5 separate regions of the Homo sapiens genome follow, and all the other regions are linked to region 5. The links are contacts of gene promoters, found by promoter capture Hi-C in blood cells and fetal thymus (Javierre and others, 2016). All regions are on one chromosome and are shown on one strand. The core of a region is centred on a gene start or on the middle of the fragment in contact, and the rest is flanking DNA. Distances in the headings are between cores, read along the strand shown. Region 1 has its middle 67 kb from the start of ODC1-DT. Region 2 has its middle 36 kb from the start of ODC1-DT. Region 3 overlaps ODC1-DT (ODC1 divergent transcript). Region 4 has its middle 44 kb from the start of TAF1B. Region 5 holds the start of CYS1 (cystin 1).

Region 1 (2,756 bases), core at 179-2,678, 440 kb after region 5:
TGGCAATTCTAAGGTAGATATGGAGACTAAGTTACAAGGTAGGGTGGGAAAAAACAATGGATTTATGCCAGACTTTTTGAAAAAAATCTCACCTTGGAGGAATGGGTTTTCCATCATTTGTCCATCCCTCCTATGTTATATATAATAAACAGAAGGAGGTTAAAAATGCGCTGGTACCTCCACCATCATTCTGTTTATGGTACCAACAGACCTAGATCAGGCCAGAAGGAGTGGGCCTCACAGAGCCCATTATTGCACTTATACTTGCTTTGCTCATCCCCTGCAAGAGCTCAGAGCTCCATGTTCCAGGATTGGATGAGTAATATCAGCCCCTTGGACACACCATTGGGTCACCCTGCCAGTAAGAGACAGATTTGTGATAGCCACTCAGTTCGAACATTTTTTTCACTTTTATTTTTATTTTTTGTCCTTGGCATTTGTTGAGCTTCTTTAATGTATGGATTGACATCTTTTGGTTCATTCCAAAAAATTATCAGACATTATCTCTTTAAATAATAATTTTGCCCCCATCTCCCTTGCTTCTCCTTCTGGAATACCCCCTAAATGTATTTAGACCTTCTCACTCTATCCTCCTCTTTTTCATGATTTTCATCTTTCTGTTGTTCTGTGCTATCATTTGGATAATTTTTTCTGACCCATCTTCCAGTTCACTAATTCTCTCTTTGCCTATATCTAATTTCCTATTAAATCCACCTATTAAATTTAAAGTTTCAGTTATTATATTTTTCATTTTTATAAGAAAGATCTATTTGATTTTCGAAAAACCTGCCAAATCAGTTTTTTCATAGTTCTCTGTTTCCTGCAAATATCTTTAAGCTTGTATTGTTTTTTCAACATAACAATTGTATAATTTCTTTCCTATTATTTCATTATATGAAATATTTGGGAGTAGTTTAGCTGTTTGTTTTTTCTGCTTATTCATGCTCATGTTGCCTTATTTCCTTGTGTGCTTCCTTATTTTTCACTAAGTGCTGCTTGCTTTCTTTTCTTTTTTCTTTTTTTTGAGATGGAGTCTCACTCTATCACCAGGCTGAAGTGCAGTGGCGCAATCTTGACTCACTGAAACCTCCGCCTCCTGGGTTCAAGCGATTCTCCTGCCTCAGCCTCCCGAGTAGCTGAAACTACGGGCATGCTCCACTACACCCAGCTAATTTTTGTATTTTTAGTAGAGACGGGGGCTTCACCATGTTGGCCAGGATGGTCTCAATCTCTTGACCTCGTGATCCACCCGCCTCGGCCTCCCGAAATGCTAGGATTACAGGCATAAGCCACCATGGCCAGCCTGCTTACTTTCTTGAGATATTACTTGATGATAATTCTTTGAGATCTCGGATGAATGTGACATCTGCCTGAAAGAATTTGCACTTGCATCTGCCATGCACCTAGGGACACTTCCACTCCAAGATCACCTTCATCTGAATTTGTTCCTGGAAAATTTCTGGGCCATTCAGGGGGTGTGAATTTGGGTACCAGTCTGCACAAGGGTCAGTGTTTGGATACAGCTTCACAGAGATGAGCTTTTCTCCCGCTCTCCTCAGTGCCAAGAAACATTTCCTTGTTATTTCTAAAGGGGGGTTTGAGGGAGAGAATGCAAAAATTTACTTCGGGTTCATGCTAATCCTGGGTGTGTAACCCTTTAGAGTTCTAGCATAATGGGCTAAAGATCTTCTGGTTGGTTCTCAGCCTTACATGGATTCTGGGATTGGGATTCTGATTCTCGGCTTGAAATTCTGACAGGTGAATTTTCTTCTAAGCACAGTGATTAATCTATTGGCAGTGCACTAAATCTTGGAAAATTGTGGAAGGAGACAAGTCTCCTTGAAATGAAACATGACATTCTTCTTGCTACATCAGATATGGTTGGTTCTTGCTCAGGTTAAACAACCTGAAGCCATAAAAACTACAAAACCAACTTTCGAGAATTTTAGCGGTTTTAAATGTACAGGATGAATCAGTTAGGAATGCTTTCCACTACAAGTAGTAGCAATGTGACAAATAGAAGCTTATTTTTCTTACATAACAAGAAGTCTAAAGATAGACAGTTGGTGGTATTGGTTCACCTGCTCAGGAATGCCCTAGCGGGCAGGGGAGGGTCAAAGCTCTTTGCATGTTTCTTATCTGGGATTCTAACGCTTCCTCATGCTTATCGCCTCATAGTTACATAATGGCCACCATAATGTTAGGCATTATGTCCATGTTTAAGACAGGAAAAAGAGGAAAGAGCACCAGTCACATCTGTCCCTTTTATAGGGAGGCCAATGGTTCCCCAAAGGCCTCCCAGCAGACCCCTCACAATGTATCTCATTGTCCAAGACTCAGTCACATGCCTGTTGCCGGCTGTGGGAAGGCTTGAGGAACAGGTGGCAAAATGGAATCAGACTGTCACGGTCAGTTCAGACCATTCGCGGTGCTCCCCTTGGACACTGGACACAGTCAGGAGCATGCTGGAAAGGCAGAGGGGAGACTGGCTGTGGAAAGCAACCCAGAGCCATGAGCTTGGAGCTTGCTGTGCCCACTGCCCACTTTCCAGCAAAGCAGCACAAAGTCAACATACAGAAAAAGCCTGCCTTGTTGGGAGCCTCCAGAAAGTGGGCTTCAAAGTGGAAGGACAGGTTTCCTGACAGAACACACACCACACGTGCACACACACACCACACACATATACACCACACACCACACACAGGACACACACATACACCACACACATACTACACACACACCACACACACGACATA
Region 2 (2,974 bases), core at 398-2,897, 410 kb after region 5:
ATGTCAACAAATATGTCTGTCTTCAAAAAAAAAAACTTCTGAGTTAAGAGAGTTTTCCCTACCATTAAATTATTAAGTAATCTTTAAAAACAGAAAAAAGGAAAGAAATCTTTACTGTCTTGCTATTGATGTCTTTGTCAAAATCCATCATTTTATAAATTGTAAGATTGAGGACCAAGTAATCTATCTTTTCCCATTAGTGAAAAAGAACATCTTCTTCATGTGTTAGAATCTTAAATGTACTGGGATCTATTTCTGCTTTCTCTGTTTGGTTCTAGAACTAGCTTTCTATTCCAATGCCAACAGTCTGTTACTTTGAATAGAGTGGCTTTCGGGCATGTCTTGATCTGAAAATGCAAATTCCCCCAATGATTCTATTTCAAAAGGTTTTATTTCTTAGGAATTAATTTTCCCCAACAAGCTTTATGATAATTTTATCCAATTCTCTGCCTCTTAAAAAATACTTGGCCAGGTATTAGGGTTTACACTTGTAATCCCAGCACTTTGGGAGGCTGAGGTAAGAGGATTGCTTGAGGCCAGGAGTTTGAGACCAACCCGAGCAACAAAGTGAGAGCCCCATCTCTATAAAATATGTGCATAAAAGAAAAAATATATAATATAATATATATATTAAGTATATAATATATAAATAAAAGAAAAAAGTACTCCATCAGAATTCTATTTGAAGTTGCATTAACTTTATACATTAATTCTAGGAGGGGTACTTTAAGTTAAACATATGCATTCCCATCCAAGCTTTCTCTTCATTCAGTCTGCTTTATGCCATCCAATTAGAGTTTACATAGGACATTATTCTTTCTTGTTACATTTTATTTCTGAACACTTCATAGCTTTGGTTGCTATTGTAAATACACTTTTTTCCATTTTAGTTGCTTATGACTAGAATAGACAGAAGCTGTCAGTATTTGTATAATTTGTCTAATTATCTAGTATCTAGCAATGTCACCAATACTCATTGATAATTTCTAGTTACTTTTACTAATCTCTTGAGTTTTCTAAGTGCATAGTCATATCATCCACAAAAATAGACAAATTTATTTCTTGTTTTCCAAGGTCTCAAAATGGTTTTATAGGCTTTTGATGTTATTGCATTCGCTGGAACCACGACAATATTCAATAATAATAATGGTCATATTATCACCCTTGTACAGTTCCTGATTTAAATGAACTGGTTCTAGAGTTTCACTCTTTAGAAAAATATCCTCTGTTGGTTCTTGGTGAATGCCTTATATTTCCAAATCGTTTCCATAATCTATCATAGAGGTTTTTAAAGAAAAGATGTTACATTTTGTCAAATGTCTTTTAGGCTTAATTGGAGTGTGTGTGTGTGTGTGTGTGTGTGTGTGTGTGTGCGCGCCCACATGCATGTGTGATTTTTCAAAAATTGTTTTCCCTTTGTTTTTGAAGAAGATACTTTTATGCTTGTAAATGTGCACCTGCATATAGTCTGTCACTCATTCTTTCTGATTTTAATTCATGTCTGTGGTTTTTCAAAGACAAAAACTAAGCAAAAGGCTTTTTGCATATGATGGAATAGTGTATTATTGAAAATATTATATATTCAATGACTAGCATCATGGTAAGAGAATCATGAAGTAAGTTAAAGTGAAAAAAACCCCTCAGTATACAAAACCATGTATAGCATCAACCTAGTCTTTAAAACAAGAAATACTCATCTATACATGACAAACCACAGAAAGGAAATACTGTATATAATGTTAATAGAAGTTTGGGTGATTTTTATATTATTACTCATAGTTTTCTGTATTTTCAGAAATTTTCCAATGAACTTGCCGTGCTGTTATAATCAGGAGAAAAAGCACATTTACATTTTGGAATGCCAGTAACAAGAATCTTGAGTCGCTTTTACAGGCACAAAGTGTCCAGGGCTCTCCCAGCACAGCCTGCTTGGAGTTCAGTGGAGGGTTGAGCCTCACAGGCTTTGCACGGCTTGAGGACAGGACCCAGGATTCACCAACATCCCATGGGGCCCGTTATGGGAACCAGCATTACAATATTTTATTTAATCTGAAGTTCCTGTGCTTTCCAGCACCTGCTGCTCCTCCCACCCAGGACAATGCCGCCTAACAATGCTGCTGGAGCCTAGCCAGCACTGGCAGAGCAAAGTCTGAAATGGAGGCTAGGAGACCCACCCAGCCCTGCCTGTGTTCTGTTCATGCTGTGTGACCCTGGGCAAGTCACTTGGCCTCTCTGAGCCTCAAACCCCTTGGTCACAAAATGGGGGGAATCATGCCTGGCCTTCTTCACACATTTGGTTTTGTGGATCAAAATCTAAAAGCAGCCATATAGGTGGGGCTGCTTGAGAAACCACCGAATGTAGTGCAAACCCAGGGGAATTTTCTCACCATGCAGAGGGAGCTCTCTGCTGTCCTCCGAACAATTCGATTGCAAAACAATTCTTATTTAATTGGATTTGTCTGCGTAGGTCAAATAATAATAATTACTGAGAGTGGTAATCGTATCAAGGACAGCTCACCATGCTTCTATTACATAACTCAAGCTTCTCCCTAACGCCCCAATTCAAAAGCCTCTCCCATTTGCCTGTTCGTGACTCAGGATCACCATCAATCCTGTGCTTGCAGAAAGGCCCTCAGCTCCTTCTCCCATGAGGCGAACAAACAGCCGCGATGTTATCCTTGACCTGGTGTTTTCACACCCAACCACAGAGTAAATATGAACAAATTGCTCAACCTTGAAAAGCATCGTCAGTGATCCACATACAGGTATGCCATCAGATTAGGGGCTTTGAAAGGTCAAGGGGAGAATGATGCTGTGGGATTACCTGTTCTTTTAGCTGAAATGCGTTGAAAGCACCTACCTCCACCTGAGGCAGCCCTGGAGGTCCCTGTCTGCCACAACCCCCGATGCCTGGCTTCCCTCTCTGCGCCTGTTCCTGGAGCCAGTTCTTTCCTCCGGCTCCCCAGGGAGAGTT
Region 3 (2,999 bases), core at 1-2,500, 370 kb after region 5:
CTGGAACGTAGAGGCCAGTTCTTGGCTCAGGGAGCCAGGAGGGCTCTGACTGTTGCACATACAAGCCACTCACACTGCTATCGCCCACATACCTTCCTCTCCCGCCAGCCCACCCCAAAGCCCAAACTCCTGCCCGCATGCTGGGAAGGTGAGCCCTTGCCTGGAGAGCCCAGCAGGGGAAATAGAAGGAGGGAAGGAGGCCTGCTCCTTCCCCGGAGCTCTGCTCTGCGGCTGCAGGAAGACCCGCAGAGGCCCTGGGCAGCAGAACTGTGGACAGCAAGGCTGGAGTTGTGAAACCCAACCACTCAGCTGGATTCCAGAAGCTCAGGTGGTGGTGACTAAACCTGGCCTTACTTAAAATGCATGACTTTATTGTCTTTCAATGTATTTTCAGTAAACTTCATCCTCTCCATTACTATTTTCTTTTCTTCGGAAACAAGCAACAGATCTTTGTAAAAAAAATACGTGATGCCACGCACTTAGGAATCACCCTCATGTGGAGATGAGATTTCTTTTTTATTTTTTTTTTCTGAGAGTCTCACTCTGTTGCCCAGGCTGGAGTGCAGTGACGTGATCTCGTCTCACTGCAACCTCTGCCTCCCAGGCTCAAGCGATTCTCATGCCTCGGCCTCCTGAGTAGCTGGGATTACGGGCATGTACCACCGTGCCCAGCTAATTTTTGCATTTTTAGTAGAGATGGGGTTTCGCCATGTTGGCTAGGCTGATCTCAAACTCCTGACCTCAAGTGATCCACCCACCTCGGCCTCCCAAAGTGCTGGGATGACAGGCGTGAGCCACTGTGCCTGGCCAGAGATGAGACTTCTATGTGTGGTGCTAAAAGAGTGAATAAAAACATTAGATACTACACTGGACATGCTTCTAAGAGCTTAGTCATCTCACCTAAGTTCTGGGACCAACTCCCATTTTCTTAGGATTCCTTGGGCCCCCTTACCACCCCCCCGCCGCTCTGCCCCGCTCATTATGAAAGTTTGGACATCACTCTGTCTCTCTGGGTTCCAGACTACCTTTCTGAAAATGGGGTGGTTGGACTGGCTGAAAGCTCAGGTTCTTCTTTCCTTCTAATGTTCTAAGAATCTACTTATTTCACAGAGTTCTGTATAAATCCACTGACCAAGTTTTCTAAACCAAAACCAAAAACATGTCTGATGAAGGAAGTATCTTTTTTCTTCTTTGCTAACTTACATGAAAAGGCTTATAAAGGTATATAGTGATTGCAGACTTAAGCAGTCACCCTTATCATTATTATTATTATTATTTGAGTCAAGAGGCTTGCTCTGTTGCCCAGGCTGGAGTGCAGTGGCGCAATACTGGCTCACTGCAACCTCTGCCTCCCAGTTTCAAGCAATTCTCCTGCCTCAGCCTCCTGAGTAGCTGGGAATCCAGGCGCCCACCACCACATCCAGCTGATTTCTCTATTTTTAGTAGAGATGGGGTTTCACCATGTTGGCCAGGCTGGTCTCAAACTCCTGACCTCAAGTGATCTGCCTGCCTTGGCCTCCCAAAGTGCTGGGATGATAGGCGTGAGCCACCGCGCCTGGCCTCACCCTTATCAAAAAGAAGTAGGTCACATAGAAGACAATAACCAGCAAGCATTTGTGTATCCATTTACTCAGTATTGGAAAGTTTGACATTGAGAGCTTTCTGGAAAATGGGTTTGGGCGCTGCTTACGTGTCCGTGGTTGTACTCTACTTCACCAAACTTCTTCCAGAAGCATAGAAGAGTGGACTGTGGAGTGAGGCTCATGACCTCCAGCCCCATGAGGACTTTGGGAGGTTAGCTTCTGCCCTGGCAAGGGTGCCCTAACTCAGGACACCTGGGTAATGGGGACTAGTCACAGATGCTCTAGTCCCATCTGGATGTTTGGCCAAAAATAGTTTTCCTTAGCTCAGTCACTCACCAGTCCTTTAACCTTGCCCTTTGAATGGTTTTAGGTGTTTCCGAAAAATCCAATCCACCCTCCAAGGTGGAAAGTGTGCCATCTCTGCCCATAATCCAAATGGCGTGCCTGAGGCATAGAAAGCAGCTTTCAGGGAGGCCTTCCTTCCTCTGAGCAATGGTGGCATCATCAGAAAAGTGGAGCTCCTCCAAAAGGATCTGCTGGAAGCAGAGGACGCCCATGTGTAAGTGGAAGTCCCAGGATGTTTGTTTTATAAAGTGTTACATCACGGCCCTACCTTGCCCCAGCCCTGGTGTGGCTCACTGGGAAGCTGCTGGGAAAGGAGCCAAATAGGAACTAGGCCAGGGCCTCCTGGAGCCCAGAAGGGCCCTGGGGGCAGGTCAGTGGGCACACACAGTTGCAGAGAAGAGGGGGCCCTTGTCTGGAGGCTGAGAGTTTGGAAGAGTACTTTTTTTTTTTTTTTTTGAGACACAGTCTTACTCTGTCACCCAGGCTGGAGTGGTGCAGTGGCACAATCTTGGCTCACTGCAGCCTCTGCCTCCTGGGTTCAAGTTATTCTTATGCCTCAGCCTCCTGAGTAGCTGGGACTACAGGCGTGCACCACCACTCCTGGCTAATTTTTTGTATTTTTAGTAGAGACAGGTTTTCGCCATGTTGGCCAGGCTGGTCTCAAATTCCCGACCTCAAATGATCCGCCCGTCTCAGCCTCCCAAAGTGTTGGGATTACAGGTGTGAGCCGCCGCACCCGGCCTGGAGGAGTTCATTTTCATGGGGAAAGTGATGTTTATCATTATTTTGCTTCCCACTTCCTTGTCTTTTTCAGTGGGCAGAAGTCAGAGTCCCATTAAGCCTGTACCGAGTCAGTATTCAGACATGCCATCCGACACGTGGACAGAAGCTTTGCCATCTGCCTACTTGGCTTGTCTGTTTCAAGCCCTTCACTGGTGGCCCTGGGTCCACAGAGTAAAGTCCAAACACCTTAGCCTGGCACCCAGGACCCTCTGAGGCCTGCCCTGCCCACCCTCCCAGCCTCTTTTGCCACTCCAGCTCCCTGAGCCACTGATGTTCCACAGACCCTGC
Region 4 (2,928 bases), core at 408-2,907, 280 kb before region 5:
CACTGTCTGGCCAGCATGTGCGGTCGCGTGAAGACCTGCTAACAGCAGGAGCTGGGGACTCCCTGAAGGCGCTGACCTCGGCCGACTCCCCCAAGAATTCCCAGACCCTGGCACGGGTGCCGGCACATGTGCTGCCCAGGGCAGGCTCGGTGGACACATCTACAGTTCATTCTCCCACTTTAGTCCATTTGCTTAAGACACCCTTCCCTGGCAATCGGTAAGGTGCACACATACTGCCTGGGGCTCTCATTAAACTGCAGATTCCAGTTCTGTAGGTCTGGGAGGGGCCTATGATTGTGCAGTTCTAACCAGCTCCCAGGTGAGGCCAATGCTGCTGGCTCAGGGACCACACTTTTCACAGTGAAGCTTTAGAGCTCATTATCTTCCAGGAAGACAAATGCAATACAGGTGTTGCCTGTAGCCAATGCTTCAGCAAATGCTATGGATGCTGCGACTCTGAAACTGGCTGCACCTGCCCAGCAGTCCTGTGAGAGAGTCTGTTAATAAGTAGCAAAGTAGACTCCTCACTGAGGAGGGCAGTTCAGGGACTCGGAAGTCAGGGATGCCCAGAAGGTACACAAGGGGGCTGGGAATCCAGGCTGCAACCTCTAGGCCCAGAGGCCTGGGTGCCAGGCTCAACACAGTTGCTGCTCGCCCAGTGACCTCACGTGAGACACCTCCTCTCTCTGGGCCTCTGCACCTACTCTGGGTGGTACTATCTGCCATGAGAGTGAGATGGGAAACTCTTCCAAAGAAAGGAGGGCTGGATGCTGGTGAGTTGGCATTATTGGCAAGAGCAGATATGATCAGCCCTGACCATGGGCCAAACACCATTCTGCCCACTTTCTCTGTATCAGTGTGTTTAACCCTCAGGGCGACCCTCAGAGGTGGGCACTGTTCTTATTACCTTTTCACACAAGAGAAAACTGAAGCCCAGAGGACGCAATTGCTGTTAAGACCCCAGGCAGTCTGGCTCCCAGCCTTCTACTGAACCCTCTTGTCACTCTGCCTCTCCAGCCTGAAGCTCTGGAACCGTAATAGGTTCATGGCCTGACCCGTGCAGGAAGTCAATATGCAAGATGCCGCATTGCAGCAGAGAGAGAGGTCTAATCAATGCAGGGCCACCAAGTGAGGAGATGGGAGGAAACCCCCAATCCATCATCTCCCCAGGGAGTTCGGGGCTCGAATTTTTAAGGGTTTTGAAGTGGGTCAAAGTGTGGAGGTCCTTGATTGGTCGAAGAGTGCAGTCACGGGACAAGGAGATGAAGAAACCTCACTGTCACGCGGATTCCGTTCCTCTGTGGGGGTCTTCGAGCTGGTTGGCATCAGCTGTTCTGATGGAATTCAGGATCTGCTTAAGCAATTCTTAAACAAAATTCCTATGATTCTAAGGTCAGAGATCCTATCAATAGGAACCATGGGGATGTGAACTGTCCGTACCTAGGGCTACGTGACTTTTGGTTACAAGGAAGTGGGTCAAAGTACAGCCTGATGAATGCTTAATTATAGCTATATGACTGTCCGCAGTTCTTGTTAACCCTGTGAGGCTGGCTTCAGCTGGGTCTGCACTAGGTTAAGAAAGGGAGAAGAAGGGTGGGGACCTCAGCCCTTCCTTCCTGCCCAGACCACAGCCTGCAAACCTCCTCGGGTCCCCTCTGGCTCCAGGGCTCTCGCTGCAGACAGATCAGAAAGGACTCTGGGTCTGTCCCACCCCAGCCAGGCAGCCCAGAGCCCTCAGAGCAGGTGCTGCCCAAATGTTCCTGGGCATGGTGGGACCTTCTGCTAGGCAGGCTCTTCCTCATAGATTTGGGGGCTGCTTGTTTTAGGTTTAAAACAACCTGAGCTTCCCCCAGCCAAGTCCCTATCTCATTGTGTTGCCGTGGTCTGTTTGCCTGTCTGTCTTGTCCCCTAAACTTTGCACTCTCAGAAACGGGGCTGTGTTCCCTCCTCCCTAGGTCTCCAGCTCAGTGTCTTGCACACAGTGGGTGGTGAACTGACTTGCTCCTAGTTTCCCCTCTAGAGGTGCTGGGATGCAGTGACAACGCGCTTCCAGATCTTGCCACCAGAGGGCAGGAGCGCACAGCAGCCGAGTGTGAGCAGCGCGGCAGAGAGCAGGTCGGGCTGGGTGGGTCCCTGGACATCCAGCCGGCAGGGCAGGGAAGGGCCAGGCGCAGAGGGTAAATGAGGACAGGGCCTTGGGGGAGTCTCTTCATTTCCCATGCCGATTCCAGAGACTTCTTTTCTCTTCCTTCCCTTCCATTCCCCTGCCATCTCTTTTCCACTCCCTCCCCTTCCATGTTGACCAGGGTCCAATTTTGACTTTGTGTGACTTTGGGCCAGAAACCTCTTCTCTCTAAGTTGTAGTTTCCTCGTCTGTAAAATGGGGAAGTAGTGCTACCCAATTCTGGGCAGTTCCCTATCTTCCCTTCCTCAGGCTTTGGGACCCTCTGTAGGGCCACGCTTCTCGGCTCTTAGTGGGGAGCTCCAGACTGTGACCCAGGCAAAGCCAGGGGCCCTTTGAAGTGAGCTGCCTCCTCTGCCCCCTGCCTGGGAGAGGACACCTGCAGGCCTGGCCCTGTGGGGCCAGGTGGGCTGGCAGAGTGGATGGGCTGGGAGCTGTGGCAGCTGTGCCGGGTACACACAGGACATCAGCTGGGCCTGTTCCACTCAAGCATAGATGAGCAGGCAGGCATGAATGAATGAATGAATGAATGAATGAATGAATGAATGAAGAGTGAATGAATGAGTGAATGAATGGGAGAAATTCAGGCATGGCTTCAGAATACTTGTAGCAAAGGGATTTTCATACCCACTGCCAGTGGAACCTGGAAGCCTCCTAAGCCTCTCGGAGCCCAGCTTGAGTGGAGTCCACTGGGGGCTTGTCCTCTTTTTGAAGCCTCTTGTCCCTTTTGGACTCCTCACTGGCAG
Region 5 (2,874 bases), core at 167-2,666:
CAGTGTTATATAACTGCAGGCTGATGTGGTATTAAAGGAATCTTGTTATATAATTCAGCCCTACTCACTGCAGCTCGCTTTTCCTCTTTAAAGACCGTAAGGGAGAGGAGCAGGGAACCAGGGCCAGAGGGAGAGAGCTCTGTGCACTGTCGCCTGGGGCTGTCCCTCTCCCCCACCCTCCCTGGGGCCTTTTCAGGATTCCTTGGTGCGGTAGCCACCCAGGAAGGCATCTTCCTCGGCTCCCAGCGGCTGCTAAGCAAAGCCTCCCGGGCCTCAGGGAGGAGGACGAGGCCCTTGGCATCCTCCCCGAGCCCGGGAGCGGATGTTAAAGATCTTGTTCATTCAGCTCTGCTGGAGCGAAGACGGTTGCCAAACCAGAGTGCTTGTTTTATTGTTTTTTTAGAACAGCAGGACTGTTATTACGAGTATTCAGGGAGAGAGAATAGGAAGCGCAAAAGAGATTCCGCAGCATCCTAAAAATATCAGTAACATGAGAATTGCCTGCCCAGCAAGGCAAGGATCTGGACCGGTGGGCGCGGCAGGGCGCTTCTGAGCCACCGTCTGGCTGCCGTGCCACCACCGCCGGCGCCCCGCTCCAGGGCGGCCCGGGAAGGCCAGGCGGGGCCGCGGGCCCGAGGGGAGCCGGGAGCCCGGCGCGCTCCGCCTAGGGGTGTCCTTCCTCGGCCGCTCCCAGCGCGATCGCCCCCACGCCTGGACACAGACCCGGAGACGGGGCAGAGAGGGAGGAAACCTGGGGGCCCAGGGGCGGGGAGGCCGGGGCAGCGGGGAGCACGCAAGTCGGAGGCTGGAAGGGGGCGCAGCGCGACCGGCGCCCAGGGCTGGGGCGGGGACGCGCGGCCGGTGAGTGGGGTCCCCGCCGTCCCCCGAGGCCCTGCGGCTCCCACACTCACCGCGCTCCCCGCGACCGCGGTGGGTCGGAGCCGGGCTGGGCGGCGCGGGGCGGGCTCCGGGGGGCCCCAGGCCGCCGACTCGGCCAGCAGCTCGTCCAGCAGGCGCAGCGTCTCGTCCCTGCCGTCGGGGGGCGCCACGGGGCTGGGGTCGCGGCCGGGCGCCTCCTCCGCGGCTGCCCCCGGGACCTCGGCCGCCGCCACCGGCACCCGCCGGCGGGTCCCGCCCTCCAGGGCTGCCGCTCCGGGCCCCGCGGGGAGGCTCTCGGGGCTGCGCCGCCGCCTCAGAGTCCGGCTGCTCCGGCTGCTGCCGCTGCCCATGGCGCGCCCGCCGCCTCCCGGACCGCCGAGGGGGCCCCCATGAGGGGGCGCGGCCGGGGGCGGGGACGCTAGGGGGTGCGGCCGGGGCGGGCTGCAGGGGGAGGCGCGGGGCGAGGTCCGGGAAGCGACCGCGGCCAGGGGCTAGGGTTCCCGGGCGGGGGTCGCGGCCGGAGGACGGGGGTGCGAGCCGGAGCCTGGGGAGGGGCGGGCGAGGCAGGGCTGCATAGGCGTCCCGAGGGGGCGCACACCGGCCCTAGGGAGGGGCGGGCCCGAGACCCCGGCGAGGAGCACCGGGTGCGGGCGCGGCCTCCCCTCCCGGGTCTCCCCCTACAGTCCCCCCACTCCCGCCCACGGGTCCCCTCGCTCCCCGCCGTCGGGTCAGCCCTGTCCCGGCCTTCTGGAATTGCTGAACCCTGCGGGGGGCCCGGCTGAGTTTGTTCATTTATGGAAACGCTCCCCAGACGACGCTCGCCGGGCCCGTGGGAGGCCGCGGGAGCTTGGGGGGACTTCCCAAAGCCTGAGCCCCCTAGCGATGCGCGGGGTGGGCGGGGGAAAGACCCTGAGGGCTGCGCGCGCTGCGTTCGCGAGGTCCGGCCGTCAGTGCGCCCCGACCTTTCAGTGTCCGCCAGGCCTGAGACGCCCCGGGAGGGAAGGGGCGATCCTCCGGGCACCAACAGCCCCCTCCGGCCTTCTCCTTCCCTCTGTTGCCCCAGCGGAGACTGGATGTGTGAAGGTTGAGCCTCATCAAAACCTCCAAATAGTCACTACTTTTGGGAAAGAAAAACTTTGAAAATGAAGGAGAAAGGCAAAGCAACCCCCACCTCGCCCTCCCCCCGCCACAGGAAAGAAGCAAAAGGAAATACCTAGGTGGTGGTCATAAGTCTAGCTTTTGGTCTCGGATTTTTTTTTTTTTTCCCTTAACCGCTTTTCTTTTTAAGTGAACTAACCACAACCCAGACTAGAAAACACTCCAAAGCTGCCGAATTCAAACCCAGCGAGCCTTCCTGTTGGTTGGTTCTGTGTTTTACTTAAATGTGATTACTTCCTTCCCTTGCCCACCTCCTGCAACTTTAAATTCCAGCCTTTCCAAGACAGGGCAATTCAAAAGTCCTGGGTTTAACTCACCTATCTTGACTTGACATTAACTTTTATCCTGATTGATTGGATTCCAGAATAATTGTGAAAATGGAATTTCGGCTAAACTTTCCCAACCACAGACTTGAAATTCTACTATTTTATCACTTCAGGAGTAGACATTAAAAAACATATGCCTAAGAAAATGGAATAAAAATGGGACTCAGATTCACATCCATTTATTTTTATTATTAAGAGAGAACAAGAGGCCGGGCGCGGTGGCTCACGCCCGTAATCCCAGCACTTTGGGAAGCCGAGGCAGGTGGATCACGAGGTCAAGAGACCGAGACCATCCTGGCTAACACGGTGAAACACCGTCTCTACTAAAAATACAAAAAATTAGCCGGGCGTGGTGGCGGGCGCCTGTAGTCCCAGCTACTCAGGAGACTGAGGCAGGAGAATGGCGTGAACCCGGGAGGTGGAGGTTGCAGTGAGCCGAGATCGCGCCACTGCACTCCAGCCTGGGCGACAGAGTGAGGCTCGTCTCAAAAAAAAAAAAAAAAAAAAGAAC

Evidence for each region. The method cuts DNA at HindIII sites, captures the fragments that hold promoters and counts their contacts. A CHiCAGO score of 5 or more calls a contact.
Region 1: a contact is called between a fragment that was not itself captured here and the fragment with the promoter of CYS1 in region 5, in 4 of 17 cell types (total CD8 T cells, naive CD8 T cells, endothelial precursors and 1 more). The highest score is 6.9, in total CD8 T cells.
Region 2: a fragment that was not itself captured here is called in contact with the fragment with the promoter of CYS1 in region 5 in 2 of 17 cell types (erythroblasts and naive CD8 T cells); the score reaches 5.4 in erythroblasts.
Region 3: a fragment that was not itself captured here is called in contact with the fragment with the promoter of CYS1 in region 5 in 9 of 17 cell types (neutrophils, naive CD4 T cells, naive B cells and 6 more); the score reaches 12.6 in neutrophils.
Region 4: a fragment that was not itself captured here is called in contact with the fragment with the promoter of CYS1 in region 5 in 1 of 17 cell types (erythroblasts); the score reaches 7.2 in erythroblasts.

Annotation. Positions count from the first base shown.
Region 1 is chr2:10,515,444-10,518,199 of GRCh38, forward strand. No RefSeq gene overlaps it. Among named protein-coding and RNA genes, the nearest start is that of ODC1-DT, 67 kb to the left of the region's middle. The HindIII fragment of the contact is 1,186 bases long and covers 836-2,021 here.
Region 2 is chr2:10,484,625-10,487,598 of GRCh38, forward strand. No RefSeq gene overlaps it. Among named protein-coding and RNA genes, the nearest start is that of ODC1-DT, 36 kb to the left of the region's middle. RefSeq lists an enhancer at 2,512-2,974. The HindIII fragment of the contact is 1,786 bases long and covers 755-2,540 here.
Region 3 is chr2:10,450,328-10,453,326 of GRCh38, forward strand. ODC1-DT (ODC1 divergent transcript) reads left to right here. Exons shown (of 5, transcript NR_110597.1): 3 at 1,954-2,142. Among named protein-coding and RNA genes, the nearest start is that of ODC1-DT, 2.1 kb to the left of the region's middle. The HindIII fragment of the contact is 3,130 bases long and covers 1-2,815 here.
Region 4 is chr2:9,797,789-9,800,716 of GRCh38, forward strand. No RefSeq gene overlaps it. Among named protein-coding and RNA genes, the nearest start is that of TAF1B, 44 kb to the right of the region's middle. RefSeq lists enhancers at 2,028-2,863, 2,864-2,928. The HindIII fragment of the contact is 2,587 bases long and covers 365-2,928 here.
Region 5 is chr2:10,078,995-10,081,868 of GRCh38, forward strand. CYS1 (cystin 1) reads right to left here and starts at 1,417. Exons shown (of 3, transcript NM_001037160.3): 1 at 912-1,417. The coding sequence starts at 1,229. RefSeq lists silencers at 552-891, 962-1,201, 1,262-1,321, 1,492-1,731. The HindIII fragment of the contact is 11,698 bases long and covers 1-2,874 here.